Regions from separate parts of the Homo sapiens genome. Here all the other regions are linked to region 1. Evidence: promoter capture Hi-C in 16 types of primary human blood cells and fetal thymus (Javierre and others, 2016). All regions are on one chromosome and are shown on one strand. Each heading gives the region's core, a stretch centred on a gene start or on the middle of the fragment in contact. The rest is flanking DNA. Distances are from core to core; before and after follow the strand shown.

What was found. Contacts are between HindIII fragments. The CHiCAGO score rates a contact against its expected background, and 5 or more counts as called.
Region 2: a contact is called between the fragment with the promoter of GK here and the fragment with the promoter of RLIM in region 1, in 2 of 17 cell types (naive B cells and naive CD4 T cells). The highest score is 7.9, in naive B cells.
Region 3: a fragment that was not itself captured here is called in contact with the fragment with the promoter of RLIM in region 1 in 1 of 17 cell types (total CD4 T cells); the score reaches 5.6 in total CD4 T cells.

Annotation. Positions count from the first base shown.
Region 1 is chrX:74,612,720-74,616,541 of GRCh38, reverse strand. RLIM (ring finger protein, LIM domain interacting) reads left to right here and starts at 1,918. Exons shown (of 4, transcript NM_016120.4): 1 at 1,918-2,120. RefSeq lists an enhancer at 1,994-2,313. The HindIII fragment of the contact is 9,843 bases long and covers 1-3,681 here.
Region 2 is chrX:30,651,302-30,655,123 of GRCh38, reverse strand. GK (glycerol kinase) reads right to left here and starts at 1,701. Exons shown (of 21, transcript NM_001205019.2): 1 at 1,509-1,701. The coding sequence starts at 1,586. RefSeq lists a silencer at 1,612-2,031. The HindIII fragment of the contact is 2,269 bases long and covers 57-2,325 here.
Region 3 is chrX:104,165,423-104,169,244 of GRCh38, reverse strand. It overlaps FAM199X (family with sequence similarity 199, X-linked), which reads right to left and starts at 2,792. Exons shown (of 6, transcript NM_207318.4): 1 at 2,263-2,792. The coding sequence starts at 2,459. RefSeq lists an enhancer at 2,450-2,950 and a silencer at 2,515-3,004. The HindIII fragment of the contact is 174 bases long and covers 1,625-1,798 here.

The DNA of each region.
Region 1 (3,822 bases), core at 669-3,168:
GGAGTGGCTAATGTTATTGCCATAATCAGAATATCAGGCTTAATGGCAATTGCAGGCTACTGAAGAATTCCTTTTACACGTTCTAGGTAATCGTTCTAGTACATGATTATGTAAAATAAGACAAAAACCTGAGTAGAGACACAGCGCCTAAATCATGTATCCCTCTGCCAAAAATGACAATATCAATGAGTCTTCTAGGGAGTTGGGCAGGTAAGTATGAGGGATATTGTTTTAACTGCTTGGAGTGAAATACTTATATTCCAGGCTGATATAACATCCATCATGGTGAGGGGGTAATTCTCCCAAAGTATTTTGAGGGCTTACTATGTGGTCGCTGGGGACACAACAGTGAACAAAACAGAGAGGTTTACTGCTCAGAAAGGGTGAAGTAAACAAACAAATAAATAACTTACTTTCAGATTAAGTGTTTTACAAGAAAAGTAAGCAGGTAAGGAGATGGGAGAAGTCGTTATTACTTTTTTCTTTTTTTTTTTTTCCTCAGACCTTTTTCCGCCTTCAGGAAGAAGTTATTTTAGGTAGGGTGGTCAGGGAAGGCTTCTCTAGGAAGTTAATAATTGCGAGGCTTGGATGATGAAAGCAAAGATATGAAAGTAAAATATTCCAGCAAAGGTAAAGTAGTTGAAGTAGGAAGAAGTTAGCTTTGTTGGAAAAACCGTAACAAAGCCAGCATAGCTGGCATGCTATTGGAAAACAGAAAAATTGGGAAAAGGAAAAGAATCTAAAAACTTGGGTAAGGTTTTCCTTTAACTGTGACAATGGGAGTGGCATGCTGTGTGGCGAGTTCCCTCAATTCTTTCAGGCATTACTACCTAAGAAAGGCCTTCTTTAACTGCCCTTTTACAAATCCCAACGTTATCAGATTTTCCCACCCTTTTACAATCACCGCCCTTTTTCGAATACTTTAGAGTTAATGCCTCAAAGTTATCAGTCTTTTAAACATCACGAATCCGTTTGTCCCTACAAGGAACTCTTCTGTCCCCCTTCCTTGATTTTTCTCCTTGGCATTTATCACTAACATGATATGTATTTATGTTTGATTTTTTCTAAATTATTGTCCCTGGCCCCTATAAAGACTCAAGAGAACTGGGATTTTGATCTGTTTTCTTTTTTTTTTTTTTTTTTTTTTTGAGACACAGCCTTGCTCTGTCACCCAGGCTAGAGTGCAGTGGCGAGATCCCGGCTCACTGCAATCTTCGCCTCCTGGGTTCAGCTATTCTCCTGCCTCAGCCTCCCGATTAGCAGAGATTACAGGCGCCCGCCACCACGCCCGGCTAATTTTCGTATTTTTAGTAGAGACTGGGTTTCACCATGTTGGCCAGGCTGGTCTCGAACTCCTGACCTCAGGTGATCCGCCCGCTTCGGCTTCCCAAAGTGCTGGGATTACAGGCGTGAGCCACCGAACGTGGCCTGTTTTCTTTCTTAATTTTGGTCTATTTTAATTTCCTAAGCAGCTACAATGGTGCTTGACATGCAGTTGGCACTGTGTAAATACATGTTGAATAAAACGCAGGCTACTTTTTGAACTGGTCTGCACGGATTGTGTGAACTGATGTGATGTCAGGGTAGACTAATATCACATTTCTCTCTCTCTGAAAATGTCTTCAAGCAGTCAGACCGTGACGTCCTTCAGTTTTCAAAATGGGAAAGCGAAGGTTCCCACAATTCTCAGAACGCAAATTTCTCGCCACAATTCAAAATGGCGGAGGAGGGTGGGGCCTGTCACATGGTGGGCGTCATAACAGCTTTCCTTTTCCAAACCGCCGCCCGCCTTGCCGCGTCGTCTGCCGTCCCCCTCCTCCTCCCGCGGAGCCTTTTCGAGGAATCGACTGGGATTGGCTAATAGGCTGGGAGTGGGGCTGCGGTGCCGGGACGCGGCATCATCACTTCCTGTTGTGGGCAGTCGTTTCCTGTCGCTGCTTGGTAACAATGGGGAAGATAATGGCTGCCTGAGCAACGTCTCCGAGCAGGCGCTGGGCTAGAGGCGGGTCTCAACCAGCTACTCATTGGAGGCGGGCTTGAGAGCGGCGGCCAGGGAGGTGCGGAGCAGCCTCGGCGGCGGCGGCCGAACCAACCGAGTCGGATCCTGACCCTAAAACCTAGTAAGTGAAGACTTGGGAATCCTGTGAGAAATGATGTAGAGCGAGAGGAAGACAGCGGAGCCGCGGCTGCCGCGTTCTCTCAAAATGGCCCGAGTGACGCGTCGTGGCAGAGGCTCAGCGCCGCCTCCGGACCCCAGGCCCGTTGCTGCGGGGGGCTCCGTGGCGTAGTCGCCGCTGCCATTTTAGTTGAGTGGTATAGTCGACAGGCTCTTTGAAGGGGAAGGAGGTGGGTAGTACTTCCTCTCGGTGGCCGCGCGAGCTGCAGCCCAGGCCCTCCGGAGCCTTAGGAAATCGGGGGAGGCAGTTTTTGAGTTTTGGCCTCAGGCGTCAGAATCTTAGAACGTCTCAGGCTTTTTCTTCTCTGTTCTCTGGAGGCTTCCCTGACCTCCCCGCGTTTTCCATGGCGGGCTTGGGTTTGGGAAAAGGGAAGTAAAAAATCAGGCTGCCCCAAGTGAGATGCTGGCAACTCTTGGGCCTTTAGATTTCCAAAACCTCATTTTGAGCCCTTCTGCAGGGTATTACCAATTAGGCGCCCCCTGGGGCCGCGATGACATCTTCCCTGAGGATCTGAGGCAAATGTGGTTTACTCCCTTGCTCGAATAACCCTGGCATATCCTTTGCCAGGTATCACTGGAAGGATCCCCCCGCAAAAGAGAGGGAAAAGCCGTTAGGTGTTTGTTGTGTTCTCCTGGATAAGGGATGGAATTGGGCCAAATTTTCAAGTTAATTTGTGTTTAATCCACCAACAACTCAATCCCTCCCCCATTAAAAAAAAAAAAAAAAGCCTAGGGGGGTCTCTGCTTCTGCAGACGGTACCTGCCACGCATGCCATAGCTTAGTAACTAGTATTAACCGGTTGGGCTTCTGCTTCCTGAATACTCGGTCCCTTTTTCCCTTATGCTGATTAATTTCAAGATGGAGGAGACAGCCACGTTCCTTCCCTAGACAGTTTCACCATACTTATTCCACAGGTTAGTCTGGGAATCTGAGGCCTAGCAGTCTTGTTATTGAGGTCATTTTTTTTTTCATTTTGGGGCAAGAGGAAGCAGTTGTATCAGATTGTCATCTTCCATTTGCAAGACCCCACAATGATTTTTTGCCAGAAGTAAGGAGCCCGCATTTCCTGAATCAGAATTAACCGCAGTGTTTTGGACTGATTGAAAGGGGGAAGAAATAATAAACCTACTGCTACTAATCATTTCTTTCATTCTTCGTGATTATAGACAGAGTAACTACTTATCACCCCATTAAGTACATTGTATCTTCCCTGGAGGACTGGCACAATTATAACCCCTCCCCCCCCATGACTTTTCTAAACTGTAGAAATATAGCTTAGGTAGCTAGAAAGACCAATCCACTTTTTAAAACTTGATTTTAGGACACACTCCACTTACTGAAAAATGTTACAAAGATTTTTTTAGTCCATGATGTTCTGATGAATTTTAATACTTTAGTTCCTACCTTAGGCTAGTGTAATGTGCCAGATAAGTCCTTGAAAGTGACTATCAGAATCTGAAAATAATTACTGGTCTGATAAGGAAAGGCTTATTTTAAGCAAGCTTATAATAAAACGTAAATTGTCTCTCAGTCTTAGAAGACATCTTTTATCTAACTCCTGGTCCCCTCTGACCTTCTTGCTCTCCCCAAATGCCCTAATACTAATATTGAATTAGGTTGGGTTATGGTGTGTCTGTATTTTTTT
Region 2 (3,822 bases), core at 452-2,951, about 44 Mb after region 1:
GCTCAAACCAGGGTAAGTCATTAAATAAGATTCAAACCAAAATTAGACTGAAAGCTTCTCACTTTAGACAAAAAAAGATATGTCAGGATCAAAGCACAAATGCAGTTTTTAGTCAAGTGCCAGCTCTGACAGAACTTTGAAAAAATATATACATTGTATGTATAATGCCTATGTATAAATATACACATATGTGTATATATGTACAGATATATACATACTAAATAACACAGGAAAACATGATTTGCGGTAAAGTGAAGAGCTAAATAATCATTAAATATTTACATCAACTTGCCAAGTTAGTCAAATATCCATTGAAAGCATGGGCTTTTATCAGCAGGCATTCATTTCAATTACTTTTATTTATTTTTTATTTATTTTTATTTTTTTGAGACAGAGTCTCGCTCTGTTGGCTAGGCTGGATTGCCCAGGCTGGAGTGCAGTGGTGTGATCTCTGCTCACTGCAACCTCCGCCTCCCGGGTCCAAGTGATTCTCCTGCCTCAGCCTCCCGGGTAAGTAGGATTACAGGCGCCCGCCACCACGCCCAGCTAATTTTTGTTATGCCAGGTTGGCCAGGCTGGTCTCGAACTCCTGACCTTAGGTAATCCACCCGCCTCAGCCTCCCAAACTGTTGGGATTACACGTGTAAGCCACCGCGCCCGGCCTCAATTACTTTTAAATTATCTTACTGAACTCTGTGCTAGGTCACTTTAAGAGCAAGTTTACTAATTGCACAAAAATTAATCAGCAGTCACTTAAATAGCAATCTTTTGTGGTAAAACTGTGCTGTCACACATGGTAAATAAAAAGAGAAACAGAATTTCCGTGTCGCATTATGCTGTGAAGCACAGTAAGGACAATCATTTGTTTGTAATGGGCAAAGTCTCAGAACTGAAATTTGCGAGTCTTCGGAATTAAATAAAGATTATGGCAAAACCAGTGTAGTGTGACTGTTTCCTAATTTGTTCTGCCACCCTCCCCAGTATTCAACCCTCTGCAATTTTTATGGGAGAGGATGACAACGCATCATCACTCCAATACTTTATTCGTTCTACTGCTGGAAAGGACGCTGTGTTAGCTACCACAGCCGTGACACAGCTTTCCCCCCATCCAAGGACGTCCTGTGTCTCGCAGGCCAAATGTTCCTGGGGAAGACCGCGGTAGCCGTCAATGTGGCCACCTGTCCCCTACTGCAAGCGGGCCGCTCTGCGCGGATGCTCGGAGAGTCCCTGCTCCCTTTGGGGGAAGAGTCACCCCATTAGTAGGTGACCCAGCTCCGCCACCAAAACTGCGACTGTTCAACTCGGCCATGGGGGTCATGAGAGGCCGAGGTCCCCCAGGCCTGGCTGGGGCATCCCCAGTGTGGCAGGTCCCGTTCCGGCCTCCCTCCTTGCCCAGCGGCCGGGGCACCGGGCCGGAGAGATGCGGGATGGGGACACAACAGCCACCCCCTCCGTCCCCCGACTCCCGCCCCGGCTCAGCGCCTCTTCACATGTCACCCCGGGCTCACCAAAAAGCGCGTCGAACTGGTGCCCTGGTCCACCGCCCCCACCAATGGCCCCAAAACTGCCTTCTTTGAGGCTGCCATGAAACCAGCTTCAGGTCGGCCGGCGATTGCGGCCGGTTTCCTGGGTGACGGCGGCGGGAGGGGGAGGGGCAGGTGACGAGTCCAGAGATCGAGGCCGCGCGCGTCCGCTGAACGCTCGGACCGCGCTCGAGGCGGCCCCTTTACCCGCGCGCAGCCTTCTCACCCCGCCCCTCCGGCCCAGGCCCCGCCCCCCACCGCGTACCCCCAAGGCTCCAGGGGCGTGTCAGGGGGGGTGGGGGTGGGCGCTGTCACCTGGGCTGGCCAATCAGCAAACGCAAAAGAGCCGAACGCTCGGACAGGCAGAGGGCGATGAGACGTCACGGGGGCGGGGCCTGGGCGCGGTGGAGGCGGCGGCCCGCGCAGTAGGTCACGTGGGGGCCCGGCGAGCGGACAGCAGAGCCATCCAGCTGCATGGCATGGGGCGGAGACGAGTACTGCCCTTTGGCAGGCAGCGCTCCTGGCCGGCGAAAAGAGCGCACTTCCACTAGTGTCCTGGGGCTCGCCTCCATAGGGGTCTCAAAGTGTGTAGAACTGCTTGTTCCCTCCAGTGGGCTGTGCAGAGTCGTGCAGCGACGTGAGTCGCTGTGTGGACCTACCCGGCCCGGCCTTCCCGCGTTTCCCACGCCCCGCCCACCTCCCTGCATCTGGCCCCTGGTAATCGTAATCATTCCTTTGGCTGGGATTGACCCCATATAGGGTCACCTCAAGGAGCAACGCGAATCCTTCACCGTTGCAAGCTTTTCAGGGACAAGAAACGCGGAAGTTCTTTCGGTTTAGCATTTAAGGAAAGCACCCAAAATCAACCTCCCCAAGTTCCTCTATCGACCATTCAGGCAGAAGGCGCCCGGCACCACTCCGTCCTGACGCGCCCTTGCTCCTCGTTTGGCCTCACTCTGCGGTCCCCTCCCCCACACGCCATTTCCTCTCCCTCCATTAACTGCTTTGGATGGCAGGGGACAGAAAAGGGACTCTCCCTTGACCTTGAATTTACCTTGCCCGGATCCTTCTGGATCCTGTGTTCTAAGGGCTTTCAAACTTGGAACCAAGACCCACACTGTGAAACAGTTTACAAAACAAACCCAGGCTCCAGTGTGTGTGGGCGGGGAGCACATTTGTAGTTACAATTGTTACACATGTAAATACATGTTATATACATCTAATATACATTTATGTATGTATAGAAAAACTTTCCAAAACAATATTTGTCCTTCCACAGTATGCATTCTGTATTTTTATTCTATGGCATATCATTTTTTTTTAATGCTGATTGAAAATCACTAAATTGCTTTTGTAACCCACCATGCTCTCTATCAATTTTAAAAGCACTCCGCTATACCCACTGTCATTTCTTTCCATCCCTTTCCCAAATCTCTGTGTTCTGGAACATCATTTCTTTTCCTTTTTTTTTTTTTTCCTTTCTTACCTTGCTCTACACCACGTCACTTGTCCATCTCTGTTTGTATAGTTTTACCACACATGATCTGAAAGCAAATTTTCCTAAACACCGTCTAGACCTCACATTCTAATGTTCCAGATGAAGCCTGCTTATGGACATACTAGATTTAATAACTATCGATAAACTGGCTTGCTTTAATATAAGAGTGAAGATGAGTCAGTATCTCTGAATTTCCTGGAAGAGGAAAAGAGGGAGACAGGCATATAAGCAAGGAACCAGGCCAACTTGCCTCTAAAAACAGTGAAAGGCATTAGTTGAGTGAATGATATAGAAAAGGATTTTCTTGGTTCTAGAAGGCAGTAAAAACAAAGCCACCAAACCTACCACATCGATCCATTAAAAAAAAAAAATCCCTGACCACGTTTGAACTTTCACATACTTTTGACTCTCAGATTCCAACAGGACAGCAAATTATTTGTTTGGCAGCACAATGGGATCAGAATTCAGACATTTCAGAATAAGTTGGGCTAGATGTACATGGGGGATTCTTAAATTTGTTGATCCTATGGTTCCTACAACAATGTGTATTCCACATCCTCATTCCTTTCACCAAAACAAAACTGAAAAGCCAAAATATTGGCCTTTCAGGCGTCACATCTCAGCACCCTGTTAGAGATGAGGTAAAGATAAGGGGAAAGGTGTTAGATGGAAGAGTTGAGCTCAGCCTATCTTAAATATTTACTGTGAACTTTTTTTTTTTTTTTTTTTTTTTTTTTGAGTTGGAGTCTTGCTCTTTCGCCCAGGCTGGAGTGCAGTGGTGCAATCTTGGCTCACTGCAAC
Region 3 (3,822 bases), core at 462-2,961, about 30 Mb before region 1:
AATTGACAAATGATGTGATGTGAAGGAAAAAAGTGACACATACAACTCCAAAATAAAAGAACTCCCTAAACTTTGCCCGATATATGATTTAGCTGTGTGCTTCTCCCTGAAAAGAAATGGCTGGAAGCCTATGGTCCTCTCAAGCACCATCTTGAGGAGGGGTAAGAAAGCAGAACATTGCAGAAGGATAATACATTTAAAAGGCAAGGTAGCCTAGGACAGAAACATCATGTGCTGTGAATATCGCTAATTTTGCTTCCCCTACTCTCTGCTGAAAAGGATACAGAGCATTAGAACCCCTGCCACCATGCCAAGCCTTGCGAAAAGTAGGGTAGGAGAGGGAAGTTAAAAAAAAAAAAAAAAAAAGCAAGCAGTAACTAGGAAAAATGCTTGACTTGGAAAAACTGGGGCTTGCAAAGAACCTCCTTCTCCCCTCCTCACTGCCCCATTGAAAAACAGTCCTGACCTCACCACAGTCTTTAAGGGAAAGAAAACACAGGAAAAAACGGGGAGGAGGAAGGAACAGAACAAGTTGTAAGAAACATATTATTCTCATAACTTCACTCCCCATCACCTCTACCCAGTTTTGGCAGTACTTACCCACAGCCTCTGCCCTCACTCCCTTGCCCTCATCATCACAGCAGGATCATTCTGAAATTATTTAACTTTCCTGGGTATGTGACTTGCTCCAAGGCTGCAAAACTTAAATGCCAAATATGTACAAAGGTATTCTTTTACATTATTTTTCAACATAAATAACCCTAAGCACACTTGATTTCATGAATATGTTACATTCACATTACAGTGACATCAGGGGTTAAATAGGCTTCTGTGAGTTGGTCTAGGAAACCATAAGTTCTATTTGTAACACTGGATCAATTAGTTCTGCTCCAAGTTTAATCATTGGCTTCAAAGGAATAGTCTTGGATTTGCTTGACTAGGTTTTATGACCTTGAACTCAATCTTTTCTTTCTGGGCCTGTTTCTTCATTTTTTGCAATGACGATTTAGAGTAGTCATAATAAATTTACTGCCACTTCCTTTTGAGATGTGTTATACTGATATTCTGATTATTTAACTATAACACCTTGTTTCCATAGACTATAACTTTCATTTATGTAAGAAACATCTTTTACACATTCCTTGTATCTGGTAGAAGCTCATTCAATCTACAGACTGATTTAAGGGAAGGGAGGGGAGAAATATGCTAAAGACATTAAAATATGGAAGAATTTGATCAAACTCACATCATAAACTTGGATCAGAAGTCAGAACTAGATTTCTTAATTTATCTCCAGTATTTTCCATAGCTGAACCCCTCTCCTAGAGCCTTAACCACACACCCCCCCAGCCCTTTGTATATGTATCTCAAATATCCACCTATGTTAAAACTTGAGGCTGTATCTAGAACGTCTTCAACCCACCCCCCAAGATTTGATCTAACACGTAAATGCTTGCATGAGAGAAGTCTCCAGAACACTACCTTCTACTGAAATCAGTTAGGAGGAGATACACCCTCTGAATAAATTTGTGTAAGTCAGTCCATCCTAAGCCTTACTCTGTCTCTTCAAAGGGGAAGGAAACCAAGGGATATGTCATATGAAGGAATCCTCCAGATTTAAGCTTACCAATTTTGGCAGAGCCTAAAGCGCTAAGGCAAACAGTTAATAAAGGAGGAGGAAAAAAAGAGAGAATCGACTAGTTTCCTAGCGCTCAACTAAAAAAAAAAATGGGGTAGGGGTGGTGGCGGCGGGGGGAACAGGACTGTGAGACAGATTAAAAATAGGGAAAATGAAGCTTCTAGCTTTAAATGTTCCACCTTTCAACGCCACTTTTCAAAAGATCTATGGATTGATCTTGAGCCATCCAAATTCCTCTACAGCGTACCGGAAATGGAAGGGGTTAAACTTTTGCAGATGGATGCAAACAGGGGCGTATCTAAAAATCAAGGGTGGGGGTTTGGGATTCGTAGGGTACAGATGGGGGGAGGGAAGGGAAGCAAGGGAGGGAGAAGGTAGGGAAGGGAGGAGTCGCTATAGCCAGAATATGAATGAGGAAAAGAGAGTAAAACGCCGGTCGAAAGGAAAATAGGAGGGCAGGGGTGAAAATAGGGAGGGGGGGCAGGGAAGGAGGCCGGGAATGAGCGCTGGTCGAAAGCAGGTGGGGGAGGGGGCGACTGGAAGCGCAGCCCGGGACGAAGGATCAGGAGCGGGGGGCGACCAGAAGTGGAAAATCCACCCCTGCCCTCAGGTGCAGTTCGTACCTGTTGGTGTGGAAGCGGTGGAGCGGGTCGGTGCGATGGCAGGAGGACAGCTGGCAGCCGAAGTCGCTGATGTCCAGGCAGCCCGGCTCCTCGCTCGGGCAGGTGCCCACCCCGCGAGGAGGTCCCAGGAGTGGGAAGGGCTCCTCGGGGGTTAGAAACTTCTCGTAGGAAGTGATGGCCGAGGCCTCGTCGGACATGGTTGGAGATGGCCTGGCTCGGGCTCCCTCTCTGGCCCTGGGCTGCTCCCGCGCCCGCCCCTGCCCCCACTCTAACCTGTCCGCAGTCGCCGACGCTCCGGGGTGTGCCCGTCGCAGCTCACTGGCAGGCTGGGCGTCGCGGCCCGCTGCTGCTTGCCGGGGTGCGGGGCCGCGCGAAGAGGCTGCTCGAGGCCACAGCGGCCCACCGGCCACCCAGTTAGCGCCCCGGTGGCCTCTGCAGCTTCCGCCGCCGCCAGACTCAGCCCGTCAGCGCAGCGCCGCCGCCCGGCCCGGCCAGGCCCGCCCCGCCCACTGCGCTCGCCGCTTGCGACTGCAGCAGTCTGCCCGGCGCCCGCAAGGAGGGGAAGGGCGGCGGGAAGCCACTCCCCGTGCCCCCTGCTGGACCGGAGGAGGAACTGAACCTCCGCCCGCCGCGGCCCCAAGCGGCCCGCCCCGCCCTCTACGCATCGAATCAGGGATTCAGGCCGCTAGAAAGGCTAGGCGCCTCTGGCCAACCTCCTCCTCCGCTTTCTCACTCGTACTCGACTACTAAGCAGGAACCGCAGTCCCAGAAAAGGGACTTGGCCAAGGTCACACTGCGGGTGCGTGAGAAAACATCCAGATGCCCTGGTTCCCAGCGCACTCTTTCATTCTGTCCCAATTCAACAAGTATTTATTGAGCTCCTGCAGTGTGTGCCCAGCACCGTGCAATGAGGTGTAGGAGAAATCGTCCAAGCAGGGAAAATAGTCCCTTCCTCACCCTTGATCACCTAACTCCAAGAACCCTACGCTGCAGCCACTCGCCTACTCAGAGCTGCTGGACACGTCGTACTCTTTTGTGCTTTGCGCCTTTTGCTCATAGGCACCCTGCTTGGAATGCCCTGCCATTTCTCCCCTGCTAATCCTTCAAACTCCAGCTCAAACGTTATCTCCTCAGTGAAGCCTTCCCTGACTCCCAAAGGAGACTAAGGCACACCTGCTAATTTGCCCCCTCCCTCCCGTAGAAAATATATTATGGAGCTTAACTTGTTCAACTTGAATCAACTTGTTAGGTGTTATATAGTGTACTTTGCTGTTTATCTCATCTCTCTTCTCTATATTCTGGGCAAGTGATTCCTGTTCTTGGATGCGTAAGATTAAAAAAAAATAGAGGAAACCCCAAGATTACTAATTTCTTACTTTGCCCAAAGAAGACAATTTTTAAAACTACCTAATATTATTTTATAAAAGGAAGCACATTTTCATATAAGAGCATAATTCTTCAATAAAAGCAATTCTTTGCATTAACTATATTTATGAAGAAACTACATTGATCCTTCAGGAAAGCATAGAACTTAAATAGGCGGAAAGGAGGGGAAAAATG